2 separate regions of the Homo sapiens genome follow, and region 1 is linked to region 2. Evidence: promoter capture Hi-C in 16 types of primary human blood cells and fetal thymus (Javierre and others, 2016). All regions are on one chromosome and are shown on one strand. Each heading gives the region's core, a stretch centred on a gene start or on the middle of the fragment in contact. The rest is flanking DNA. Distances are from core to core; before and after follow the strand shown.

Evidence for each region. The method cuts DNA at HindIII sites, captures the fragments that hold promoters and counts their contacts. A CHiCAGO score of 5 or more calls a contact.
Region 1: a contact is called between the fragment with the promoter of ZBED5 here and a fragment that was not itself captured in region 2, in 1 of 17 cell types (naive CD4 T cells). The highest score is 5.7, in naive CD4 T cells.

Annotation. Positions count from the first base shown.
Region 1 is chr11:10,855,150-10,859,853 of GRCh38, reverse strand. ZBED5 (zinc finger BED-type containing 5) reads left to right here and starts at 1,801. Exons shown (of 3, transcript NM_001143667.2): 1 at 1,801-1,992; 2 at 3,597-3,710. It overlaps ZBED5-AS1 (ZBED5 antisense RNA 1), which reads right to left and starts at 1,637. Exons shown (of 3, transcript NR_034137.1): 1 at 1,488-1,637. RefSeq lists enhancers at 329-964, 1,366-1,455, 965-1,602, 1,756-2,135. The HindIII fragment of the contact is 21,619 bases long and covers 1-2,667 here.
Region 2 is chr11:11,155,812-11,160,497 of GRCh38, reverse strand. The region is part of intron 3 of LINC02752 (long intergenic non-protein coding RNA 2752); the gene reads right to left. LOC105376548 (a long non-coding RNA gene) reads left to right here and starts at 3,937. Exons shown (of 3, transcript XR_007062592.1): 1 at 3,937-4,077. The HindIII fragment of the contact is 1,311 bases long and covers 2,732-4,042 here.

The DNA of each region.
Region 1 (4,704 bases), core at 552-3,051, 300 kb after region 2:
GAACACCTGGACACAGGGTGGGGAACATCACACACCAGGGCCTGTCGTGGGGTGGGGGGAGGGGGGAGGGATAGCCCTAGGAGATATACCTAATGTAAATGACGAGTTAACGAGTGCAGCACACCAACATGGCACATGTATACATATGTAACAAACCTGCAAGTTGTGCACCCTAGAACTTAAAGTATAATAATAAAAAAAATAAAAAATAAAAAAAGATTGGTTTGGGAGCACATATGTAAAAGGTTTTTCTAAAATATGAAACACGAAAATATATTATTCCAATATTATTCTGAAGCCAGACAACTCCCGCAATGACAAAATCCCTTGCTCTTCAAGCGCGACTGTACCCCCTTCCCAAAAACGATTTATGCATTTATGGTTAAAGTTCAAATGAAGCTGATTTAATAGAAATAATTTAAAAATAATAATGAGAATATATGGACAGCTTACTATAGGGTGAGATGATGTTGTAATTGACTTTAAAACATTTGGAACTAAATGTCAGTCCTAGGAAATTATGCACTCCTGTAAATTGTGCTATTAAGGGTTAGGTTTCTTTCAACACTTTAGATATTTGATCAGAAGCATATTTAAGAAAAACGAAAGCTGCCCTTGCTTTTGACCCCAAGTTGAGAATTTTCTATCATTGGTGCAGTGCCTGAAAATACGATCCAATCTTCATTTAGTCATTTGTACGGAGTCTGGAAAGGCTAAAACATTGCAAATAATAGGACCTACTCGTACTTTCCCCGCTTAAGAAGCGTATCTATTTCAAGGTGCCTATTTGGAAAAACAGACTCCAGGTCTCCACCACAGAACTTAACACAAAATGAAAGCACACAACCCGCAGCCTTTGGCTGTGGTGTTTTTGAAAACAAGGAAGGGCACAGAACCATGGCTTAAAATACCCGAAAGCTGCAGCCCACAAAAAGAGTATTTCAGGGCGGGTTGGCCGTTCCCTGCAGGCAAACGTTCGGTGCAGGCGGCCGGGCGTTCCTGCGGGGAGGGCGCCACTGTGATGCAAAGACATCAAGCGGACTTTCAGCTTGCCCGTGGACGCTGCGGTGCCGCTTTCCCTATCCAGTCCTGTTCCCGCGGCTCCCCAGCCTACCCCGGGCCGACCAAGAGGTCCGGCGGGGTCTGCGCCGCATCAGCGCCCGCTCGTCAGGCCTAGCCCTCCGCACAGCCAAGGCCGACCAGACCTCTAGACACTCCGTCGTCGGGTGTGGGGCGGAGAAGTAAAGGGCGAGTTTTCTTCCTAGATTCCAGTGGGAACCAAGAAAAGGAGTTGGCAGCTGTGTAAACTGGACCTGGGGTGCGGCCTCCGGGAACAAAAGAGGTGATAAATGCACAGCAGCCGAGGTTCTGCGTGCTCCTTTGGGGCCACTACGAATCCCCGTGAATCACCCCAGCCCGGGCAGAGGGCCAGAAATGATGAAAATGCAGATTCATGGCTTCCACTCCAGCCCTACAAGATCACCAACCGTATCTGGCAGTACCCAGGAATCTGCATTCTCGACAAGCGTCCGCGCCGACGGGGCTAGTGAAGTTTGAGAACAATTGCTTCCTACCCAGCCGCTCCGCTATCACCTAGGTAGCACGGCCGCTGCGGCTGAGGCTGTGACTGCGGCTGCGGCTGGGCCGCGCCTCAACCGAGCTTGGTCCTTTCCTTTGGTCCCGCCCCGCTGCTCAGCGCGGATTGGTGGCGGGACGCAAATCTGGCGCTGATTGGGCGGCGGCAGAGTCGCTCGTGAAGATTGTAGGGTTCGGGTGCTCTAGAGTGCTAAATTTATCTTCAGACCGGCGACCGCGCCAGCCGCGAATCGGATCTCTATGGAGATGGCCTAGGCGATATCCCTGAGCTGAGAGCATCACCCTGTCCCCGAATCCTTCTTTCCTCTCTGTTTTGTTTTTCATTCCCCTCCCTCTCTCCCCTCCCCCTCCAGTCCACGACGACTGGCTGTTGACCCTGTTCAGGCCTCGGTGAAGGTGAGAAGCAGAGCCGCCGCCGCGGCTAAGCGGTGCGCTCTGAAATGGCCGCTTCCTGGAACTGCCTAAGATGGCGGTCGCGGGCTCTGCTGTGGACCGCGGCGCTGCTGTGCAGCCCAGCCGCGGCAAAATCCGTTCTCTCCATCGCTGATGGAGATGAAATAGAGAGATGGTGTTGGGTGCTGAGACGTTTTCATGTGGTCGTTAGCGCAGGCGGCCGCCCGGGGACGCGAGAGAAGACCTGAGGCGAGGGTGGGCTGCGACTGGTAGGGAGCCCCCCAGTCGTGGCAATCTGTGGGCAGCGCGCACCTGTGACAGGGAGGAGCTGAGGGATAGTTGGCCCTGGCTGCACATCCAGGTGACCGTTTAAAAAAGCATTTAGGTGTTGGAAGGAGCATCTGTTCCCACCTTTTTGGCTGGCCTGCACTCAGATCCTGTCCTCCTGACCCTGAGGGTATTGTTCCCAGCCGGAACCGCCCGAAGATAGGGGAGAAAGGATTGTGATACTTGTCAGTTTAACCGGAAGGAGACTAAAGACGGAAGTTTTCCCCGCTCTTCAGGGAGTGGAAAGGAAACTTTACTCTCAAAGGAGTCCAGATTCTTTGTCCTCGAGAAATTCGGGGAAACACCTTCGAAGAGGTGGGGTTGAGGACCTTCTTTCTGAAAACAAAAGCTTCCTACTCTTCTGTGTCCTCTGGCAACGAGAGGGATCCTGATCTTTTACGTGAACCAGCAGCTCCACAGAGTTCTCCGTTGCAAAATCCAAAAGGAGACTGTGGAAGGAGAATCTGCTTTTTTGCTCCCAATAAGAAGCAGGGCTTTATGCTGTTGCTAGTATGAGACCCTCGACTTTCTGGCAGTTATAATCCATTGTTCATCCGTTTCGCTGCATAACCCAACTCCTAGTAACGAGATTTTTTAGTAGTTGGGGAATTAAAAGTATTCAGGAACACCCAAGTAATGGCTAGACACATGGGCTATGCAGTCAAACTTTTTGGGCTCTGAACTTGGTTTTTCACTTACAAGAGGTGTTAGCGAGATGTGTTAACCTGTGTCTGTTTATCTCTAAAGTGGGGTTATTAATAATCCTTGTGTCTTCATAGATGAGATAATCTATATGAGGGATTTAGCAGTAATTGGCATACAGTAAACAATCATCAGTCATTAGACATTGTTTACCTGAGGAGATTGGTCACTGGGGGGCTAAAAATGATTGTAGTGAAAGAACTGCTTCATGTAATAGTTCTATGTATAATTCCATTTTAGATTCAAGACCTAGTTTTAGAGACATTGATGAGGTTGTACTTTTAAAAATTAGGCTTAGTTTCAAGTTCTAGAAAGTGTGGTGGTGGTGTTGTTTTAACATGTTTCTATGAAGTCAGTAGGTGGGGGAACATCTCAAAGCATCTAAATTGCCAAGATATTGAACAGGATGAAAATGTTAGAATTTTTACTATGCTAGGCGTCTTCTCTTTCAGTCCAAGATCTGCATTGCAGTAAAGAATCATTTTCACTGCTTAGATCCAGAAAGAATAAACCCATCTTACGGGTTTATAGTTAGTTCTGCTTGTTACTGTATCTAATTTTAATTTTTCTCATTCTAGGCTTTTGGTTACTCCCCTTCCCACCCCATCCCTTAATTTTATTCTTTTGAAGAGTGCATTTCAAGCTGCCAAGGTGGAGAGAGGGATTACAGAAAGGAGAACACCTTATTTCAGGTATCTTATCCTCTACCCCTTAATAGGAGAACCATTTTGACTCAAGATCTAACATGAGAATACAAAACTTACTCTATAGCCAGGTTATAAAGTTTAAATCAAAAGTAGCTATATTTGGACAGACATAATTTGTATGCCTTGATTTATAGAGTTAATAGTATTCTTTAGCAATCCTTAGATTGCATTATCCTTTTAATTTTGATTTGTTTTATTATATGAGAAATAAACCTCTTAAATGAGAGTTTATTTTTTTTTTTTAGGTCCTGGTTAAGTCGTCACCTGTTGTATAAATAGAATGCAGAGTTATCTGTAAAAATATACATTACTTTCATTGAGTCTTAATTTGGATAATATAAACGTTTATATAATTTAAGTCCAGAGAAACAGTACCTAACTTTTGATATACAATTTATTCTTCATTGTTAACGCATAACATTTAGGATACAGTAGAATTATGTATCTCGCAAAACTTGGAACTGTGTGTGTGTTTAATTCACTTCTTCAGAATTGTTGCTAGCCCTGAAGGGACTTCAGATATATAATAGTATCAACAACTAATACATCTAATGACAGTAGGCATCAAAAGCTAAAAGAGATTTCACAATACTACATACCATGAGACAGGGCTGATAAATTATGGCCCATGCTGTCTGGTTTTGTACGTAAAGTTTTATTGGAACACACCTGTGTCCATTCTTTCATGTATTGTCTATGGCTGCTGTCATGTTACAACTACAGAGTTGAGTAGTTGCAACAGAGACTATATGGCCCTTGACCAAAAAAAGCCTGCCAACCCCTGCCATGGGACATATTCTTCAGGGTCCCTTTCTTAAAAATATGTATAACAACTCTTAATAATTTATTGGCTCAGTGATTCCCAAATTATGTTTTATAGAATATTAATATTCTCTAAGTTAATAAATGTTTTGAGAAAATGATTGATGCTAATATTGGTTTTTCTTTATGGTTGATTTTAATATGTTTATTTAAATAT
Region 2 (4,686 bases), core at 2,138-4,637:
GGCTGTTTTTGGCTTGAAAGTGGGGTTTCATCAGGGACCTGCCCCTATCAGCCTAGGCATTTGGCTGCCTCCTATCGCTATCACTGTGAATATGTTACCTTATATGGCAAAAGGGACTTTGCTGATGTGATTAGGATCTTGAAATGGGGAGAGTATCCTGTTATCCTGATGGACTCAATGTAATCACAAGGATCCTTTCAAGAAGGAGGCAGGGTCAAAGACAGTAATAGATGTGACCACAGAAACAAGAAGGTGGTGATGGAGGCAAGAGGTTGGAGTGACGTGAGGAAAGGGTCACAGGCTAAGGAACACAGGTGTCCTCTAGAAGCTGAAAAAGGCAGGGAACCAGATTGTCCTCCAAAGCCTCCAGAATGAGAGCAGCCCCACAGACACCTTGATTTTAGACTTCTGACCTCTAAAACAGTAAGAGAATATGTTAGTGTTGTTTTCAGCCACCAAGTCTGTGGCCATGTGTTTCAGCAGCAATAGGAAGCTATTACAGCTGGAACCATGGGATGCCATCATCCTAACTATCCAGGGCTTCTCACAGGGAACCAGAACTATAGTTCATATTCATTCAGGATGCAACTTGAATTCAAGCAAACCCTGCTCCATTGTGTATACCTTGCATTTGCTCTTTCCAAAAGTGAGGATTCGATTGACTTTGTTCATTGTTATGCAATACAGATCATTCTTACTGAATGTCAGGCTAATAGGTTTCACATCAATACAGTTTAGTGGGGACTGGCTTCCCTCTCGTCCAACACAAAGGGCCTGATCCAATCAGCCATGTCCAGGGCAGCAAGGTGGCCGCCAGTTAGCAACCTCCATAGCCCACACACACATACACACACTCATACACACACAAAGCACAAAACTTTACAAAGAAGAATGGGTTTAAGCTATCTGTGGGAGTCACCTGAGGATACCACCCACAACCAGTAGGGTTTAACATGCAGAAGTTTAGCAAACAATCTTGAGGTTTTAAGAGAAGAATGGCCCCTTACTGACCTCCTTATACTAACCTTGATGCTGCAGTGGTAATGAGTTAAAATTGTGAGAAGCTATGAGCTCAAGGCCGGGGGTCCCTTTCTTTGGGCCCTGTGATCATGACCCTACTGGATCCTAATCCCACAGCTACAGGTAGTCATCTTCCATAGGTCAAAAGCAACCACTCCTCCAGCATCTCCTGGGGTGCCCTTGCCCCTGCACATTGGCTTGAAGGAGGGCACAGTATTGCTGCTTGACCAGGAATAATATTTTTAGGAGTTTAAAGAAAATAAAGAGAATCTGTTAAAGGCAGTTTCAGGTTCTGGGCATGAAAAGAGATACAGTGCTTGAGCTTCTGGAAATCAGGAAGGCTTAAAAAGTCAAAGAGATATTTGAATGACTGCCTTTGGGACTGGAAGAAACCCAAACAATTAGAGGCATGAAGGTATAGCACTCAGGGTTTGATAGGTGGAGGTGCATCCCTAAAACCAGGTCTCTGGGCTCACTGGAGCCTGACCTCATTTTCAATTGCTGAAAAAAAATGCACGCGATAAGCTCAGTCTGAAGATGCTTTGACAATTGTTCGAATCAGCCATTTTCCTAGAGGGTTTTGTTTTATTTATAATTATTATATTTTATTTATTTGTGTTTTTCTCTTATGATATGTTACCTTTTGTTTAAATAATTGGGCATCCCAGACCAGATTATCTAGAAATAAACTGGTGCTTTTCTGTGGTATTTCTTTAAAGGCAAGTATATTTTTAACTCGATTTATCTTTTTTGGTACACTCAATGACTTGTCTCAAAACAGCTCCATCAACTTTCTTAACCTAAATCCTTGTTCAAGTTTCCTAGTCCCTATCATTAAATTAAAACCTTTAAAGTATTTTAATTTAAGCCTTATTTGAAAAGATCATACATATCTCATGATTCCCATTAAAAATTAAGTAATTGAAATGCACACATATAAAAAATATGTATGTACATATTATATATTATTATATACATAATATGCCAGAAGGCAGAATTTATCTTCCATGGACTAACATTTTGTCAGAAAAAGAAATTGATAATCTGGTTTCTGGCATAGGCATGTGCAGCCTCCCCCCCCCCACCGCCCGCCCCCATACAGGATCCCTGGGGCAGGCATGGACAATTTCATCTCACATCTCTCTAAGGAATGACAGGTCAGCTCTGTGGCACATGGTCCCCCTCCTGCAAGGTCTGGCCTCCTCATGATGCTCAAGGTCCATTGGGAAGATTCCAGAGTGTGAGTGACTTAGGGGAGAACAGAAAGAAGTCTACAGAAGGTTGGGTAGGAAGAGACCTCAGCACACCAGGCTGCAGCTGAGACAAGGCAGGGCTCCCTGGGCAGCTCTGTCTCCTCCATCTCTATGTAGATCATTTTTCTGCCCCTCGTTTGGTGCACACTCCTGCCAACAGGATCTTGGAGGCAAGCTGGGTAAAGATTAGGCTGCCATGAGACCTGAAGCTGGTGCTCTATGGTGCATGTTTGGGAGAGCCCAGGATCTCCACCTCACACCCAGGCCCTGCTCGCCAGCTGAGGGCAGCTCTGTGATGTGTGATGTCAGTGCTTCTGGGCCGGCGATGGTGTGCTGAGCAGAGCTGCCATAGACACCCACCCCTACACCTGGACATGTCATGCCTACAAACACAGGACCTGGAGAAACCAGGAGCCATTCTCAATCCACCTTGGAGCTCTAACTACCACTGAAAAGCTTTGCTGGGACCCCAAATCATCTGGCTTTAAGGAGCTGTCAGGAAACTCTACAAAGGGCTTAGCTGGCAACTAAGGGATAAATGGCTAATCACAGTTTAAGTGGTGCCCACTTTCTCTCTGCCCCAGTGTATTAACTTCAAAAATCGAAAGAATGGAGGGGCGCTAATGGTGGGGGCAGGGACAGAGAGCCCTGCCCAGTTTCCCCTTAAACCAGAAGGCATCCAGACCCTCATCCAAGATTTCCGTGGCACCGAGAGCCCAGGGATGGTGGACGAGAAGGCATCCAGTCCAGCACGCAAGGCTTCCATGGCACCAAGAGCCCAGGGATGGTGGTTTCAGTGTCTGGTAGAGGAAAGTTGCCTTTATGCACCTTCCAGCAGGGGGCTCCGGGAGCTTCATGCTGTAGAGTAGGGGAGTCAAGGCCCTGTTTTATCTCTGCAGTTGAAACAGTCACAGATGTCTATGTGCTATTTTCAAATGAAGTTCCTCGTGGAAACTGCGCATGTTTTTCTCAATAACCACCCCACTACCACTGCCAAACTAAATGAAGCAACAAGCATCAATTTATATCAATTCAATATTTATACAAACTGTGATTATCTCTTATGGATCCGAAGCTCTGATTGGCAGTTACATATGGTTTTGATGATAAAAGTATGAAAACAAATTTATTATTATCTGCAAATGAAGGGTATATGGCAGATAGGATTTTCCAGAGCATGGAGAAATAACACAAAAGATATCCCTGGTGATGGGAAAGCTGAGAACTCTAAAATAAGAATACTAGGGGCAGGGGTACCAGATCAAGAAAGGTTGTCGGACTGGATTATATTTGTTAAAGAGAAAAGCCATAGAGCATAGTAGAAATGTCGGGATGCAGAAGAGGAGAACTCCGGGCCACGGCCTTGCTATGTGATGGTGGCCAAGTGCCTTGCCTTGGATCTTTCACGGCTGGACCCTGGAGGGGTTGGACTTGCCTGATTCCCCCTCTCAGGGGCAGAGCCGTGGACCCAGCCCAGGGGAGGGGGTTAGGGAATGTGGTGCACACGAGGCCTGGCTAAGCTAGGGCTCAGGACAGGACTTGTGGCAGGAAGGATCCCACGTTGTTAACCCAAGACAGCAGATAGGAGTTGTTGCAGGTCCCTCTTCCGGAAGCACCTCTGAAACGGAAACGGTGTGTGCGGTGTTTATCAGGAAGTGCTCTCAGACTCCACGCCCGTGGGAGTAGTGAGAGGCATAGGATGGGACAGAAGGAGATGCTAAACAGTGATGCAGAAGCAGCGAAGACCTCCGCAATCCTGCAGGGAAGCTTGGGAGCTGGTACGGCCCTGCAGAGATGCACTGAGGTAGGGCGAGGACCCCGGCCCTCTAATCCCCCGCACTGACTCGACATTGGATGCACAGCCCCTGGGAAGGGGATGTGACGGGCGAGGTGGCTCTCGGCATCTGAGAGCAATCCCTGGCGACAGACTCAGCTGAGAGCTCATCTGAGGGCAATCTCTGGAGACAGACTCAGCTCAGAGCTGTCAGCAGCCTGAGGACTGTGTTTCTTCTTGGACGGGTAGGGACCCCAGGGGAACCCGGGCAGCACACCTCACGCCCCCTGCAGGCACAGTGCTGCAACTACAGCCAACCATCCGGAGGGGAGAATTCAGGTGCGAGAGGCCCAGGGAGGAAGCCGAGGGAGACTCCAGGCCCTAGTGAGAAGGCAGCGCACAGCCAGCAAGGCGGACCCACCTAGCTGGGTCCTGCCTGCAGACATCGTAGTCAGCATCTGCGGCCGTGGCGTCAACCAGTAGGAAGCGGATTAGGACCCAACCAGGCTCAGCCAGGCTCCACCACGCTAAGGTTCTGGGCTCTCCCAGCATCTCTGAGGACTGAGGGAGGCCCCAGCCTGGGCAGAGGACACCTCTGAGGTCGTGCAAATAGTTTTCTATGAAGCTCGTCTTCTGCTG